Regions from separate parts of the Homo sapiens genome. Here region 2 is linked to region 1. Evidence: promoter capture Hi-C in human tissues and cell types (Jung and others, 2019). All regions are on one chromosome and are shown on one strand. Each heading gives the region's core, a stretch centred on a gene start or on the middle of the fragment in contact. The rest is flanking DNA. Distances are from core to core; before and after follow the strand shown. Region 1 holds the start of PDGFA (platelet derived growth factor subunit A). Region 2 has its middle 32 kb from the start of SUN1.

What was found. The method cuts DNA at HindIII sites, captures the fragments that hold promoters and counts their contacts. A contact is called where the count stands out against the background at its distance.
Region 2: a contact is called between a fragment that was not itself captured here and the fragment with the promoter of PDGFA in region 1, in 3 of the 25 tissues and cell types used here (IMR-90 fibroblasts, dorsolateral prefrontal cortex and pancreas).

What each region holds. Positions count from the first base shown.
Region 1 is chr7:517,947-522,796 of GRCh38, reverse strand. PDGFA (platelet derived growth factor subunit A) reads left to right here and starts at 2,951. Exons shown (of 6, transcript NM_033023.5): 1 at 2,951-3,858. The coding sequence starts at 3,796. PDGFA-DT (PDGFA divergent transcript) reads right to left here and starts at 2,406. Exons shown (of 3, transcript NR_033963.1): 1 at 1-2,406. RefSeq lists silencers at 1-156, 2,482-2,821, 2,922-3,011, 3,292-3,431, 3,892-3,981 and 2 more and enhancers at 472-1,393, 3,238-4,159. The HindIII fragment of the contact is 45,371 bases long and covers 1-4,850 here.
Region 2 is chr7:797,967-802,369 of GRCh38, reverse strand. No RefSeq gene overlaps it. Among named protein-coding and RNA genes, the nearest start is that of SUN1, 32 kb to the left of the region's middle. RefSeq lists an enhancer at 4,281-4,403. The HindIII fragment of the contact is 9,331 bases long and covers 1-4,403 here.

The sequences.
Region 1 (4,850 bases), core at 1,702-4,201:
TCCCAGGCCGCCAGGTGCACCTTGCTTCCCACCAGCACCTCCCCGCACCCGCCGGGAGCTCCCCGCTGCTTCCGCCAGGGGCCCCGGGCTCACCTCGGGGCGCCCACGGACTCCCAGACGCGCGCCTCAGCATGGGGTGCGAATGTTTCGGGGGCGGCGCGCGGGGCGCGTCTGCCTCCCGCACAAAGCCAGGCTCTGTCCCGGGGTCAGCGCCTCTGTCTCCCGGGCCTGGGCGGGGACGCCCACGCCTCCTCCGACGCGGGAGTATATTTAGCCTCATTATCAAATGTTTGCAGTGAACTGTGTGAACCGACTAATAGCGGCTGGAAGTGAAACTCGATTCCTGGCCAGAAAGAAGCATGTGACCGCCCCCGTCTGCAAGGATCGCGGCAGGGCGGGCGGGGCAGGTGCCGCAGCCTCCGCGCGCAAAACCCGCCGGCGGGGCCCGGGTCGCACCGTCCCCTCCTGGGCCGAGCACCTGAAACCCACCTCGTCCCTCCGTCCCCCTCCCCAGGGGCTGCAATGAGGACGCTGGGAGTTTGAATGGAAACGAAGGCCGGGGAGGGGGGTCCGCGCGGGCGTGGGTTTTTTATCCAAGTCGGTGACCTCTTGGTTAAGTCAGCCCTGCGGTTTCAACGCCCAATCCCCCCAAAAAAGCCTGTGGGGGTCCACGTCTCCTTGTGTCTTCCGGGGATCCGGCGGAGAATGTGGCGGGGCCGGGCAGGGGGGTCCCAGTCCCACGCCGGGTGCGTCGTGCCCCGAGTCTCCCCAGAAGGCGGCTGTCGCGCGGCTGCACAAGTTTTCGCCTCCCTCGCGCGGCCGCTGTTGTTGTGGTCGCCATGGCGACGGGTCGCGGTTTTATTTTTAATAGCGGCCGGCGATTAGAGAGATGCCTGCACCGCTTTCGCCTAAGCTCTGCGTCCCCCGCGGGTGAAGCACCCACGCCCCGCCCCAGCCCCCGCCTCGCTCCAGCGCCCCTTGCACGTCCCCAGGTGGCCCTAAACTCTAGCTGGGCGCACCCGTAGCTCCAGGCCGGGCAGGGGAGCCGAGGGAAGCAGCCATCTAGGCCCTCAGAGGCGGCGAGGACCCCCAGGATCCCTCAAGCTGGGAGGGACGGGTACCCCATCCCCAATACAACGCGACCTTCCTCCTTGCCTTCCACACCGTCTTACCGAGTCCTCTAACCCCACAGAGGTGTCCTCGGGCCCCCTCTGCGCGCGAGCAGTCCGAGGCCCAGGAAGACAGGATGCGCGCCACTCCGGGATAACTGGCCGAAGAATGAGGCCGGGGTCCGGCCTGCGTCCTGGCCCTGCGAGTCCGGCTCTTTCCAGAAGCCATGCAGTGGGTGTCCCCTCCCAAGCCGCAAGTTCCCCCTGGAGGGACAAGGCCTGGCTTTAAGGGGCTCCTCCACGTTTCCAAGGCTCCCCTGGTTCTGTCCCGGTCCCGCTTGGTCCTGACCACCCAGAGGGCATGCTTGACCGCGGGGGTCGTGGTGTGGGGCTGCGGCCAACGGAAGGGAGAGACGTGGGGAGGGGGCCTGCAGGTGTGTGGAAGGGCGCGTGTAGACGCGACCCACTGGGAGCGGAGGGAGAGGCGTCGCTCCCCAAATATTTGGGGGAAGGGGAGAGCCCCCGAAGCGCTCTCCGGATTCGGCCTTTGAAATGCTAGAGCTGGCCTAGCTGGGGATGAAAGACCGCCCGCGGGGCTGCGCCTTAACGGCCTTTGTCTGGAGGGAGGGCGACCGCGACGGGGGCAGGGGTTTAATCGACAGGGTTGGGGGTGACGGCTGGGCCGGGCGGGATTCTCCGCTGCTCACCCAAGGAAGCGTCTCCTGGGCTCCAGGGGCCTAGGCCGTCTAGCCTCGGGGTCTGCACAGCACGCCACCCCGCTGGACCCGGTACCAGGACGCGTAGACCCCCTGGCAGGGCACTGACGAGCACCTGGACCTGTAGTCAGGGTCCAATCCCTCCTGGTCTAGGGAGGCGAAATCCATCCAGCCCAGGCGCACCCGCCCTTTCTCGGCGTGGGAGCCGTCTAGCCACGCTCAGACCTCGGCCTCCGCGCGCGTTCCTCCCCCGCATCGCGCTCTGAGCTGCGCCTCGGCCGGAGGTGGCGCTCTGTGCGCCCCACGGATCCCGACGCGGGAGGCTCAGAACCCGGGGGACCCTCACCGGTGGCTCCTTTCCCTTCCATCCCCTCGACTTCCCGGCTCAGGGCGCGGCCCTGCCTTCGGCGCGGGAGTGGGGGACTGGGGGGCGCGGGGTCCCAGGGTGGGGACGAGGCGGGCTGCAGGCCCTTTCCCCGACTGGAGCTCGCTCCCAAGTGGAAATGTGGGTGGAGGGTCCTCATTCAGATGCCCCAGGCCTCGGATCCTGGGCGGGGGCGCGTGGCAGCCGCCAGGTGAGTGCCCCAAACCCGCCCCCCTCCTTCCCCAAAGACTGACTCCCCCTCCTTTTATGGAGAGAGGAAGGCTGGGGCCCTGGATCCGAACCGTGGAGAGCGGCCGGAGCGCCGGGGCGGGGGCGGGGACCGGCTCTCTGGCCCTTTTTGGCGCAGCAGCTCTGGGCGCTGCCCGCTGCCGCCGCTGGGGCCCGAGAGAGGCGAGCCGGCGACGGCGGCGCTTCTGCGGCGGCCTCCTCCCTCCCCACCCGGTGCCGCAGGATTGCAGCTGGCACTGGAGGGTGGGCAAGCTCGAGGGAGGGGCGCGGAGCCCCGGCGCGGAGCCGGGCGCGGGGCTTTGATGGATTTAGCTGCTTGCGCGAGCGCGTGTGTGCTCCCTGCCGCGGCGGCGGCGCCCGGGCCCTGCCGGGTCCGCACGAACCCCGAGCGCTTCCGAGGTGCGGGTCCCAGGCCCGGAATCCGGGGGAGGCGGGGGGGGGGGGCGGGGGCGGGGGCGGGGGAGGGGCGCGGCGGCGGCGCTATAACCCTCTCCCCGCCGCCGGCCGGCTCCACACGCGCGCCCTGCGGAGCCCGCCCAACTCCGGCGAGCCGGGCCTGCGCCTACTCCTCCTCCTCCTCTCCCGGCGGCGGCTGCGGCGGAGGCGCCGACTCGGCCTTGCGCCCGCCCTCAGGCCCGCGCGGGCGGCGCAGCGAGGCCCCGGGCGGCGGGTGGTGGCTGCCAGGCGGCTCGGCCGCGGGCGCTGCCCGGCCCCGGCGAGCGGAGGGCGGAGCGCGGCGCCGGAGCCGAGGGCGCGCCGCGGAGGGGGTGCTGGGCCGCGCTGTGCCCGGCCGGGCGGCGGCTGCAAGAGGAGGCCGGAGGCGAGCGCGGGGCCGGCGGTGGGCGCGCAGGGCGGCTCGCAGCTCGCAGCCGGGGCCGGGCCAGGCGTCCAGGCAGGTGATCGGTGTGGCGGCGGCGGCGGCGGCGGCCCCAGACTCCCTCCGGAGTTCTTCTTGGGGCTGATGTCCGCAAATATGCAGAATTACCGGCCGGGTCGCTCCTGAAGCCAGCGCGGGGAGCGAGCGCGGCGGCGGCCAGCACCGGGAACGCACCGAGGAAGAAGCCCAGCCCCCGCCCTCCGCCCCTTCCGTCCCCACCCCCTACCCGGCGGCCCAGGAGGCTCCCCGCGCTGCGGGCGCGCACTCCCTGTTTCTCCTCCTCCTGGCTGGCGCTGCCTGCCTCTCCGCACTCACTGCTCGCGCCGGGCGCGCTCCGCCAGCTCCGTGCTCCCCGCGCCACCCTCCTCCGGGCCGCGCTCCCTAAGGGATGGTACTGAATTTCGCCGCCACAGGAGACCGGCTGGAGCGCCCGCCCCGCGGCCTCGCCTCTCCTCCGAGCAGCCAGCGCCTCGGGACGCGATGAGGACCTTGGCTTGCCTGCTGCTCCTCGGCTGCGGATACCTCGCCCATGTTCTGGCCGAGGTTGGTGCCGCCCCCGCGCCCCGTCCCTGCGCCGGCTCCTCCGGCGCACACCCCCCGCCGGCTGGGGCGCCACGGGCTCTGCAGAGAGCGTTTTGGTTCCTGCCAGGGTGGTCGATGTTTAGATTTTCCCAACTGGGTTCTATTTTCTGCCATGCCTAAGTGTGTGTGGGGAGTTTCCAGCGTGTTGCGTCGGTCGCTCTGCCTCGGGGGGACCGGGGAGCAGCGAGGTGGACGAGTGGGCAGAAACTTCGGGGGGCGCAGTGTCCTCTCCGGGGAAGGGGAGCTGGGGCGCAGCGGGCGCTGCAGCAGCGGGGTGCGGGGAGCGGGGAAGGGGGTGTGTGTGAGCCGGCGGAGCCTGGGGAGGAGAGAAGGGCGGCGGATAAATAGGTAGGGGCGGCTGCTGCGGAAGCCCCTGGCCGGGCAGGGTGGGCAGCGCCAAGCTGCAGCCCTCGGTTCCCAGTCCCCAAGCCCGGCGGGGCTCAGGGCCGGCGCAGTCCCGCCCGCCCGGGCCTGCTTACAGGTGGCTGAGCGAGGCGAGCTGGGGCTGGGCCAGGCGTCCGCACCCTCCCACCGCGGCGTCCCCGCCCCCCCATCCCCATCCCCATCCCCATCCCCGGGAGCTTTGCTGTGATGAATGACTTTCCACAGCCCCCGTCGTGGGAACTTAGTGCTTCAGGCTCCCCAGCGACCCCCGACTCTCCTTAAAAATCGGGGAGGGGAGTGGGGGAGGCCAGAGGTGAGGGTGGTCTCCGCAGGGCACGGAGAGCTGCGCGAGGTGGAAGTTTAACCCTCGCTTTCCCTGGAGGCTTCTTCTCCCGGCCGCCGGCTGGATTTGGGCGTCTTAGTCGGCGCTAGGGCCGCGGCTGGGCCGGAGCCCGGGGTGGGGCGAGTGTGTGAGTGAGATGTGTGTGCGCGTGTGTGTGTCTGCGCGCGCGTGCGTGTGTTTGTGAGACGGAGAGACCTCTCCACGGGTTCGGCCCGGGATTCCGGGG
Region 2 (4,403 bases), core at 1,141-3,640, 280 kb before region 1:
CAGGCGGAAGCACCAGACAAGAATAGGCACCCCGGAGCTGAGTGGAGGCGGCCTCTGAGGCTGCGCGTGGCAAGTCTGGGGGTGGGGCTGGCACCGTGGGGATTAAACAAAGCTCCCGGCTGGAACCCATGATCCTCCATACCGAGGCCACGGGGCAACTGGCGGCTGGCCAGCGTCCCCAGTCAAGGAACCAGATCCACGGAGCAACTGCTCCAGAGGGCTTTCGAGAGGGCCAGGCTCCCCAAGCCACTCCTTCCTCAGTCTGGCATCTGGCGAGGTTCCCAATGCCTCTTCCCTTTCCACGCCTCACAAGGCTGGACACCTGGAAACCCTCCCCTTGGACACGAGGCTTCCCGTCAACCTCTTTGTTTCTGAGAGAGGCCGGAGAGGAAGGTGAGCTACCTGGAGGATGAAGCAAGGTCTCCATTCGTAACTGGGAGACACCAGGAAAACCAGCAGCCCAGAAGAGAAGGACCAGAGACCAGGAGACAAAAGGACTCCTTCCAGCGAGAGCAAGGAGATTCAGAAATAGCAGAGAACGGCCGCGCACGGTGGCTCACGCCTGTAATCCCAGCACTTTGGGAGGCTGAGGCGGGCAGATCACCTGAGGTCAGGAGTTCAAGACCAGCCTGGCCAACATGGTGAAACCCCATCTCTACTAAAAACACAAAAATTAGCCAGGTGTGGTGGTGTGCACCTGTAATCCCAGCTTCTTGGGAGGCTGAGGCAGGAAAATTGCTTGAATCTGGGAGGCGGAGGCTGCAGTGACTGGAGATGGCGCCACTGCACTCCAGTGTGGGCGACAGAGTAAGACTCTGTTTCAAAAAAAAAAAATGTTTTTTCATACTGTATGATTCCACTTACATAAAAAAGACAACTAATCTACAGTGACAGAGGCAGTTCAGGGTTGCCAGAGCCGGGAGCGAGGGTGTGGTTTGACTTCGAAGGGGCTCAAGAAAACTTTTAGAGGTAACAGAAATGTTCTATATCTTGATGGTAATTGTGATGACATAACTATATATACTTGCAAAAACTCATCAAAATATATAATTACAATAGGCCAGGCGTGGTGGCTCACGCCTGTAACCCCAGCACTTTGGGAGGCCAAGGCAGGTGGAGCACCTGAGGTCAGGAGTTCAAGACCAGCCTGGCCAACATGGTGAAACCCCGTCTCTACCAAAAATACAAAATTAGCTGGGTGCGGTGGTGCATGCCTGTAATCCCAGGTATTTGGGAGGCTGAGGCAGGAGAATCGCTTGAACCCGGGAGGTGGAGGTTGCAGTGAGCCGAGATCGCACCACTGCCCTCCAGCCTGGGCGACAGAGCCAGACTCTGTCTCAAAATATATATAGCCATAATCAGAAAATACTGCGGATTTATTTTTAGTCTTTGGCATCAATCTACATGTAAACCATGAAAAAGGTGAATATTTTCCATCTGTTCTAACTATAAATAGTAACCTTGGCTCTGGAACTGCAACTGTCCAGCTGTTATGAGTTGGGAGGTGGGTGGGAGGGAGAGAAAGAGGAAAGGATGGGACCCTCATCTTCCGGGGAACAGAGGAAAGATACTGTCCAAAGTTGGTGGGACAAGAGACAGAGGTTTAAGTCCTGTAAATTATTATCATTATTTGAGGCAGAGTCTCATTCTGCTACCCACTGCAGCCTCGAAGTCTCGAACTTCTGGGCTTAAGTGATGCTCCCACCTTGGCCCCATGAATAGCTAACACTACAGGTGTGCACCACCATGCCCAGCTCATTTTTTAACTTTTTGTAGAGACAGTCTTGCTTTGTTACCCAGAGTGGTCTTGAAATTCCTGGCCTTGCCGGGCATGGTGGCTCATGCCTGTAATCCCAGCACTTTGGGCGGCCAAGGCGGGAGGATCACGAGGTCAGGAGATCGAGACCATCCTGGCCAACACACGGTGAAACCCCATCTCCATTAAAAATAAAAAAAAAAATTAGCTGGGCGTAGTGGCGGGCTCCTGTAGTCCCAGCTACTTGGGAGGCTGAGGCAGGAGAATGGTGTGAACCTTGGGAGGTGGAGCTTGCAGTGAGTGGAGATCGCACCACTGCACTCCAGCCTGGGCGACAGAGCGAGACTCCATCTCAAAAAAAAAAAAAAAAAAAAAAGAAAAGAAAAATTCTTGGCCTCAAGTGAGCGTCCTGCCTCAGTCCCCCAAAGTGCTGGTATTACAGGCACATGCCACCATGCCCAGCCAATGCCTGCTTTTCATATCTGTCCCACAGTCATGTAAAATGTTAACACCAGGAGAACCTGAGCAAAGTGTATATATGGGAACTGTACTATTTTTGCAATTTTTCTGTTAAGAAGTGTAAAGTTTCTTTCTGTCTTTCTTCCTTCCTTCCTTTTTCTGTTTTTTTTTTTTTTTGGAGACGGAGTCTTGCTATGTCACCAGGCTGGAGTGCGGTGGCGCAATCTCGGCTCACTGCAATCTCCACCTCCTGGGTTCAAGTGATTCCCCTGCCTCAGCCTGCCAAGTAGCTGGGACTGCAGGCACATGCCACCACGCCTGGCTAATTTTTTGTATTTTAGTAGACACGGGATTTCACCATGTTGGCCAGGATGGTCTCGATATCCTGACCTCATGATCCGCCCGCCTCAGCCTCCCAAAGTGCTGGGATTACAGGTGTGAGCCACCACGCCCAGCCCTAAAGTTATTTCAATAAAGAATTTAAAATATATGGCCAGCCGTGGTGGCTCATGCCTGTAACTCCAGCACTTTGGGAGGCCAAGGCGGGAGGATCACTTGAGGTTAGAAGTTCGAGATCAGCCTGGACAACATGGCAAAACCCTGTCTCTACTAAATGCTGGGATTACAGGCATGAGCCACTGTACCTGGCCAATAATAAAATAATTCTACAACTTTGAAAATGTAAAGTCAGTCGGAGCCCTGAGCTTGTTTTCCTGCAACTAGATGGTCCCATCTGTGGGTGATGGGAGACAATGACAGATCATCAGGCATTAGATTCTCATAAGGAGTGTGAAACCTAATCCCTCTCATGCACAGTTCACAATGGGGTTCATGCTTCTGTGAGAACTGAATGCTGATGCTGATCTGACAAAGTGGAGCTCAGGCGGTAACGTCAGCGATGGGAGCGGCTGTAAATACAAATGAAGCTTTACTGGCTGGCCCGCTGCTCACCTCTGGCTATGTGGCCTGGTTCCTAACAGGCCACATTCTGTGGCCCGGGGGTTGGGGACCCCTGCTGTAAACGACGGTCTTGGTGTGGTCAGGAGCAGAGGCCCCTGGGAGCTGGTGCTCCACCTCCTTCAAGGTGCCGGACCTCAGCGGGGCCTGTGCTCTATCCACAAGCCTGCTTGCTTCTGGGTCCCGATTTTGTCTGTTAGTGCTTGTCTTCTTGTTGGAAGCCATCTCTTCCCTGGTGGGATGAATGAGCTATTAACAAATTATTTATTTATTTATTTAATTTTTTTTGGAGATGGAGTCTCGCTCTGTCGCCCAGGCTGGAGTGCAGTGGCACCATCTCAGCTCTCTGCAACCTCCGCCTCCCTGGTTCAAGCGACTCTCCTGCCTCAGCCTCCCAAGTAGCTGGGATTACAGGTGCGCACCACCACGAGCAGCTCATTTTTTTATATTTTTAGTAGAGATGGGGTTTCACCATGTTGGCCAGGCTGGTTTCGAACTCCTGACCTCAAGTGATCCACCCATCTCAGCCTCCCAAAGTGCTAGGATTACAACGTGAGCCACTGCATCTGGCTATATTTACTAGAGACAGGGTTTCACCATGTTGGCCAGGCTGGTCTCAAACTCCTGACCTCAAATGATCTGCCTGCCTCAGCCTCTCAAAATGCTCGGATTACAGGCATGAGCCCCTGCACATGGCCCCTTTGTTCCATTCTTTTATTTATTTATTTTAATTTTATTTTTTTAAGACAGAGTCTCGCTCTGTCGCCGAAGCTGGAGTGCAGTGGCGTGATCTCAGCTCACTGCAACCTCCTCCTTCCGAGTGCAAGCAATTCTCCTGCCTCAGCCTCCCAAGTAGCTGTGACTACAGGTGCACGCCACCATACCTGGCTAATTTGTTGTATTTTAGTAGAGATGGAGCTGCATCGTGTTGCCCAGGCTGGTCTCAAACCCCTGAGCTCAGGCAATCTGCCCACCTCGGCCTCCCAAAGTGCTAGGATTACAGGCATGAGCCACTGTGCCTGGCCATCGCATACTGTAAATAAACATTCAGACATGCAGAGGCTGCTAGCCTGGAGCACCTGTCAGTGACGGCAAGTCTTCCAGTCTGGACGGGCACAAAGTGGCTGTTATGTGAGCACATCCCTGGAGGGGCGGGATCCATGGGTGGTGAACACGGGGCCGTGCTCCCAGCCCTGCCCCGGGAGGGAAAGAATCTGGGCTGGAAGGTTTC